2 separate regions of the Homo sapiens genome follow, and region 1 is linked to region 2. Evidence: promoter capture Hi-C in 16 types of primary human blood cells and fetal thymus (Javierre and others, 2016). All regions are on one chromosome and are shown on one strand. Each heading gives the region's core, a stretch centred on a gene start or on the middle of the fragment in contact. The rest is flanking DNA. Distances are from core to core; before and after follow the strand shown.

Region 1 (3,522 bases), core at 232-2,731, 220 kb before region 2:
CAAATGATTCTCCTGCCTCAGCCTCTTGAGGAGCTGGGATTATAGGCATGTGCCACCACACCCAGCTAATTTTTGTATTTTTAGTAGAGACGGGGTTTCATCATGTTGGCCAGGCTGGTCTCGAACTCCTGACCTCATGATCTCCCTGCCTTGGCCTCCCAAAGTGCTGGGATTACAGGCGTGAGCCACCACACCTGGCCAGTGGGCTTTTCTTTTCTACCACATGGCCAGGCTCCAAATTTTTCAAGCTTTTATGCTTTGCTTCCCTTTTACTTTTTATTTATTTAGTTTTGAGACAGGGTCTCTGTCACTCAGGCTAGAGTGCAGTGGCACAATCATTGCCTTGCACAGCCTTGACCTCCTGGGCTCAGCCTTCTGAGTGGCAGAGACTATAGGCGTGTGCCACCACACCTGGCTACTTATTTATTTATTTATTTTATAGAGACAGGGTTTGTCCATGTTGCCCAGGCTAGTCTTGAACTCCTGGGCTCAAGTGATCTGTCTGCCTTGGCCTCCCAAAATTCTAGGATTACACGCATGAGCCACTGTGCCCATCCTGCTTCCCTTTTCAATATAAGTTTCAGGTTTACATCATTTCTTTACTCATGCATATGGGAATCAGTGGTTAGAAGCAGCCAGGCTACCTCTTGAACACTTTGCTGCTTATAAATTTTTTTCACCAGATACCCTAAGTCATCATTCTCAAGTTCAAAGTTCCATAGATCCCTAGGGCAGGGGCACAATGCCTCCAAGTTCTTTGCTAAGGCATAACAAAAGTGACCTTTGCTCCAGTTACCAAAAAGTTCCTCATTTCCATCTGAGACCTCCTAAGCCTGGACTTCATTGTCCATATCACTATAAGCATTTTGGTCACAACAATTTAACAAGTCTCTAGGAAGTTCCAAATTTTCCCTCATCTTCCTGTCTTCTTCTGAGCCCTCAAAACTGTTCCAACCCCTGTTTGTTACCCAGTTCCAAAGCTGCTTCTGCATTTTCAGGTGTCTTTATAGCAATGACCTACTCCTCAGTACCAATTAGTCCATTATGGGCTATAAAGAAATACCTGAGACTAGGTAATTTATAAAGAAAAGAGGTTTAATTGGCTCATGGTTCTGCAGGCTGTGCAGGAAGCATAGCAACTTCTGCTTCTTCAGAGGCCTCAGGAAACTTACAATCATGGTGGAAGGTGAAGGGGAAGCAGGCACATCTTGCATGGCTGGAGTAGGAAGGGTGGGGGTTGCTACAAACTTTTAACAACCAGATCTGATGATAACTCACTCACTATCACAGGAATAGTTCCAACGGGATGGTGCTAACCCATTCATGAGAACTCCGCCCCCATGATCAAATCACCTCCCACCAGGCTCCATCTCCAATACTGGGGATTACAATTTAACATGAGATTTGTTGGGGACACTGATCCAAAGTATATTAACATATCAATAACATAGTTATACAAATATTTCTTACTTGACAGTGTTTCCTGTACACTTTTAACATACCAGATAAGCCTAACATGGCTCTCTTGGACTTACAGGTGTTCCTTTTGGAAAAGTCTTCTTTTTTTTTTTTTTTTTTTTTTTTTTTGAGATGGAGTTTTGCTCTGTCACCCAGGCTGGAATGCAGTGGCACAATCTCCGCTCACTGCAACCTCCGTCTCCTGGGTTCACATGATTTTCCTGCGTCAGCCTGCAGAGGAGCTGCAATTACAGGCTACCACACCTGGCTAATTTTTAGTGGAGATGAGGTTTCACCATGTTGGCCAGGTTGGTCCCAAACTCCTGACCTCTAGTGATCTGGCCACTTTGGCCTCCCAAAATGCTGGAATTACAGGCGTGAGCCACCATGCCCAGCCTGTTGTGTAAACTTTAAGCAATATCTTTCCCATTATAAAAGTTTTCTTGTGGCTTGAGTGTAGGACGATGCTCTTAAAAATTGAGATTTCCTTTACAGATATTTATTTTACAAAGTGTTACAAAATAGCCAGCTAAATGCCACAGGTCTTATTTTAAATACCAATCTAGTTAGATAGGTGGTCTTTTCAATTTAGCTTGTTTCTGCTTAATTAGATTACTGACTTTAGGGTGGAACCCTTTAGTGAATAGGGCAAGGGAAGCATTTGTAGTCTTCAGGGTCAAATATTTAAATGTGAAAAGCAGGCACAACTGGAAGGCAGGGCATCGAAATTTTTAAAAATCAAGGGTCCCATTTTTACTGCATCCTGGGTCCCCAAAAGTTGGAAATGCCATGAGACCAGCCATGCGGTGGGTGACCCAATAAACCCATTCTAGCCTATCCCCCATGGGAGTCTTATCCCTCAATGATGAGCAGTCTTACACCTTTGAAGTGTTCAAATGATGCCTTTCTCATCTAAATGCACAAAGAAAAGTGTGCCCTGCCTGCAGTAGCAACCATTCATTGTATCCCCTGTCAGCCATTTCCAAAACTGCAGCCTTCACCAGTGACTTGTCAACCAGTGCACACACAAACGTCAGGTTCCCGCTCACAGCACAAAGCAACTCATGGAACCCACTAAAACCAAAGAGATTAGGCGATACAATGCAAAAAGGAATAGAGCTTTAGACCTGAAAGAAATTGCCCACAACACTTCAGACTCCATAAGGAAAACAGAAACTCCAAAAAGCAGGTGAGTGGTGCTGTGTTCTGTGTTCTTCAAGGGGTCTCAGGGTCATTAGAAGTCTCTTCTAAGCTTCATGTGGTATTGAAAATGACAAAAGGAAGGAGAAGCAGATGTGGAAGAAAATAGAAGAACAAGTCTTAGAGGAGCCAATTTGGGAAGATTTTCCGCTTTCAAAAAGGCCAATGAAGTTTTACATTTTTCTCAGCAAAAATCATGCCAATAAGATAGGAAGCAAACAGTGGGATCAAACACATTTAAAAAGGGGCTTTAGCTGACTGAGAAAAATCCCAGAAACAGAATCCAAAAAAGGAAAAAGAAGAAATATTTTATTCTCAAAAAAATTATAGCCTAAATATCAGCTTTTTTTTTTTTTTTTTTTTTTTTTTTGAGACAAGGTCTTGCTCTGTCACCCAGACTGAAAGCAGTGGCATAATCCAGCTCATTGAAACCTTGAACTCCTGGGCTCAACGATCTCCAGCTCATTGAAACCTTGAACTCCTGGGCTCAACGATCCTCCTAACACAGCCCCCTGGGTAGCTAGGACTACAGGTCTGTGCCACCATGCCTGACTATATATATATATATATATATATATATATATATATATATATATATATATATATATATATATATATTTTTTTTTTTTTTAACATTTTTTGTAGAGACGGGGTTTGCTATGTTGCCTAGGCTGGTCTTGAACTCCTGGCCTCAAGTAATCCTCCTGCCTCATTCTTTCTGATGCAGGATTTTTCTCAGCCTCACTTTGCCAGCTGGAAACTTCTGTGGCTGTCAGGGCCTCTGCTTATTTCTTCCCACCACCCCACTCCAGCCCATGGCTCCCAGCTGGCTTGGCTCTGCAAGCCGCTTCCCATCATGTGGGG
Region 2 (3,552 bases), core at 682-3,181:
ATATTTGTAGTTGGACAGATTCCAACCAATAGGGTCATCTGGAATACCTTATTAACATTATTTCTTAAAGGAATGGCATTCTTAAAGGAATATTCCATTTACATCAGATTTATCTGGAGACATTTGTTAAAATGAAATTCCTGGGCCCATTTTCTGACCCACTAAATAAACCTCTGAGCGGGACCTGCCATGGAATCTGCATTTTAATCATGTGTCCCAGTTGCTTGGAACAGCCCTGGTTTATACATGCTGTCCTGGGGTAATTACTAGTAGAGCCACTTTCACTCTCAGAAGTATCCCAGATTGGACTGTACAGTACGTTTTATTTCCCTCTCTCACAGTTGACAGTGCAGAGCCCAGCAGGAAAAGTCTCCAGCGGGTAATGAGTCAAGACTTCCCATCTGTCTGGCAAGTGGAAAGGGCATGGGCTTCAGGGCCAGCTCAGCCACGTACAAACTAACTTCAGTGAATGCTTCCCCTCCCTCAGCCCATTTCCTTGCCTGCATTTTTGGGCGTAATAGTGCCTCCCTCACAGGGTGGCTGGGGGCCTGGATGGGAGGAGTGTGTCAAGGGCCCAACCGAGGCTGCCGCCCAGGGCTGCACGATACAGATCAGTGCTGGCCTCTCCATCTCACTTCCATGCTCTCTGAGCTGAACTCCGAAGGCCCCATCACCAGGGCCCCATTTGCGAAGGCGGCACCAGACAGGCTGTGGGAACGAGCTTCACAGCTTTTGTCAAAGTGGCATAATAAAGCCCCCAAGTGTCTGCTCTTTGCAAACTGGGATGGCAGATCAATTGTGGCATAAACAAAATAGCAGGCTTGGTGCGAACCCAGGGACAGATCACGCCTCTGCAGGGTGTGATTGAGGGGGAGGAGGAGATTCTCAGGGTGGCTGGGTTTGCCTTTTCTCTGGCTGAAGCTTTGAGGCCCCTCTCCAGAGCAGCTTGGCTCCCCACAAATTGCAAGAGCTTGGGAGACTGCTTCTCTACTCTGGGAGGCAACTGGCTAGGCAGTGGCACAAGCATAGGCCCCAGTGCCCTCAGCAGGAAGCCTGTCCCAGGGTCTCAGCACCCCCCCAGAGCTCTGAACCTACTGACCTTGATGCGGAAGAAGGATGGACCATCCTCCACCCCCACCTTGTCTCCCAGGATGAGCTGAGTGTGCTCTGTAGGAAAGCGAAGGGCAGTAAAGCAGGCACAGAGAGACCTCAGGAACAGGACAGTAAGGACGCTTTCACTGGTTGCCCTGTGCGCTGTCGGAGACCCTTCTGCCTCACCTGTCCCTTCATTCTGGGCAGATGGTGTTACACAGCTAGTCTAGTATTTAGCATCATTTGGGGCCTGCAGCACTCCCTAGCTAAGTTGTTATGCTGAATGCAAGCTGAACCAGGGCCGTAAGAAGACCCCAGGACAAGTTCTGGCCCAGACTATATGCGCCCTGTCCCAGAGGTGAGCCTGCTGGCAGCAAAGGGGGTAGGATCTGTACAAAACTGCTAAGAAACCCAGTGAGGGGCCTCTAGGAAGGCAGCCTAGAGACTGAGGACAGGAACTGCATCTGTCTGGTTTTCCACCATATTTCTGAGCCTTGCATGATACTGCCAACCTGATGCTGTCCACAGTAAATGTTTGCTGAAGGAATGAATAGGTGGATGTTGGTCTTACCAGCTTCATGTCTGGTGTTGGTTGCCTTGCTGAGGCCCTCGGATAAAGCCACACCCTTGTGAGGAGGGAGCATGAGGCCGGTCACATTCTAGGTTTGGTCATCCAGGAAAAAGGCAGATCCTCAACTGGAAACCCAAACTCCAATAGATGGCCTTGGGCAGAAGCCAGGAGTCCAGACATGGAAGAGTTTGGAGGAGTCAGAAGAGGCCCCCAGAGAGTGGAGGAGATGGCCTTGGCCTCACAAGAGTAGGTCAGGCAGGGCAGGCCTGTGGGGGGCCTCAAGAGGCCAATGAGTACCCCAGCTGTGGTCAGCCAGGCAGACTGTCACCCAGAAGCAGCAGTCTCCTCTGCACCTCATTCCTCGCGCTGTCCTCAAGCCCTGGGTCAAGTCTTATGTAAATAGCCCAGCTTGTCTGAGCTGTGCCACGGGGAGGTTATGAGTCTACCTTGGCAGACTCTTTAGGGGATAGGCCATGGCCCCTCTCCCCTGTGAAGGGGACAGCAATGATCAGTAGAAAGGAGGCCAGAGAGGACAGAGGACTCTTAAGGATGGGAGTCACAACTCTGAGCAGCAGCCACTCTCCCACGAAGATGCTCCCCTGGCTGTGGTCCTGGAGGACTGCAATTTGGTTTCTTAAGAAAAATGGAGCTTCCTTGGTGCCCTCAGAATACAGTCTAATGTGGTGGAAAGAGCATGAACTTTAGATGCTAGCACACCTGGGTTTCAGTCTCGGCTCCACCATTTCCAAGCTGTGGGGACTTCGCAACTGCTTTTCACCCTTTAACCTGCAGTTTCTGCATCTGTTGAATGGAGCTGTTCTCCCCCATAGGTTGTCATGATGACATGCGATGATGCAGGCAGGGCCAGCATTGTTAGGTGGTGGCTTTCACCACAATGAAGAGAAAATCCAGGTGGAACCAGTTTATTAAATGGGCCGACACTGGAAATGGCTTTGTCTCATCTATTGTCTTTAAGAACTCCCTTTTAGATTCCTTAACATCTTGGGTAAATGCTAGAGTTATCCAAATAGTTTTTATGTCTTTTTGTGTTTTGGGGTTTTTGTTTGTTTTTGAGACGGAGTTTCGCTCTGTCGCCCAGGCTGGAAGGCAGTGGCGCGATCTTGGCTCACTGCAACCTCTGCCTCCCGGATTCAAGCGATTCTCCTGGCTTAGCCTCCCAAGTAGCTGGGATTACAAGTGCACTCCACTATGCCCGGCTAATTTTTGTATTTTTAGTATAAACGGAGTTTCGCCAAGTTGCCCAGGCTGGTCTTGAACTCCTGGCCTCAAGTGATGCACCCACCTTGGCCTCCCAAAGTGCTGGGGATTACAGGCGTGAGCCACCAGGCTCAGCCAGTTTCTTTGTTTCTTTTCTTTCTTTCTCTTTTTTTTTTTTTTTCTGAGGGAGTCTCACTCTGTTGCCCAGGCTGGAGTGCAGTGGCGCAATCTCGGCTCACTGCAAGCTCCGCCTCCTGGGTTCACGGCATTCTCCTGCCTCAGCCTCCCGAGTAGCTGGGACTACAGGCACCCGCCGCCACACCTGGCTAATTTTTTTTTTTTTTTTGTATTTTTAGGAGAGACGGGGTTTTTGCATATTGGTCAGGCTGGTCTTGAACTCCTGACCTCAAGTGACCTGCCCACCTTGGCCTCCCAAAGTGCTGGGATTACAGGCATGAGCCATCACGCCCGGCCTCTTTTGTTGTTGTTGTTGTTGTTAATTAAGTACCAGTTTTAAGATTGAGACTCGTTCTCAGTTGTTTAATCAAATCTTCAAATTCACTTCTAATCAGAGCTTATTTAGCCTCCCCCTCTAGCTCTGGGCTGACACATGGCTCAGGGGACCCGCAGTGGATGGGGCATGGGGGTGATCTTACATCACTGGAGCCACT

What was found. The method cuts DNA at HindIII sites, captures the fragments that hold promoters and counts their contacts. A CHiCAGO score of 5 or more calls a contact.
Region 1: a contact is called between a fragment that was not itself captured here and the fragment with the promoter of MSH2-OT1 in region 2, in 2 of 17 cell types (naive B cells and M0 macrophages). The highest score is 6.8, in naive B cells.

The regions. Positions count from the first base shown.
Region 1 is chr2:47,744,344-47,747,865 of GRCh38, reverse strand. No RefSeq gene overlaps it. Among named protein-coding and RNA genes, the nearest start is that of MSH6, 37 kb to the left of the region's middle. The HindIII fragment of the contact is 2,462 bases long and covers 251-2,712 here.
Region 2 is chr2:47,525,916-47,529,467 of GRCh38, reverse strand. It overlaps MSH2-OT1 (MSH2 overlapping transcript 1), which reads right to left and starts at 1,931. Exons shown (of 3, transcript NR_120602.1): 1 at 1,664-1,931; 2 at 1,100-1,167; 3 at 304-401. The region is part of intron 1 of KCNK12 (potassium two pore domain channel subfamily K member 12); the gene reads left to right. It also overlaps a transcript of MSH2 not described here. The HindIII fragment of the contact is 9,331 bases long and covers 924-3,552 here.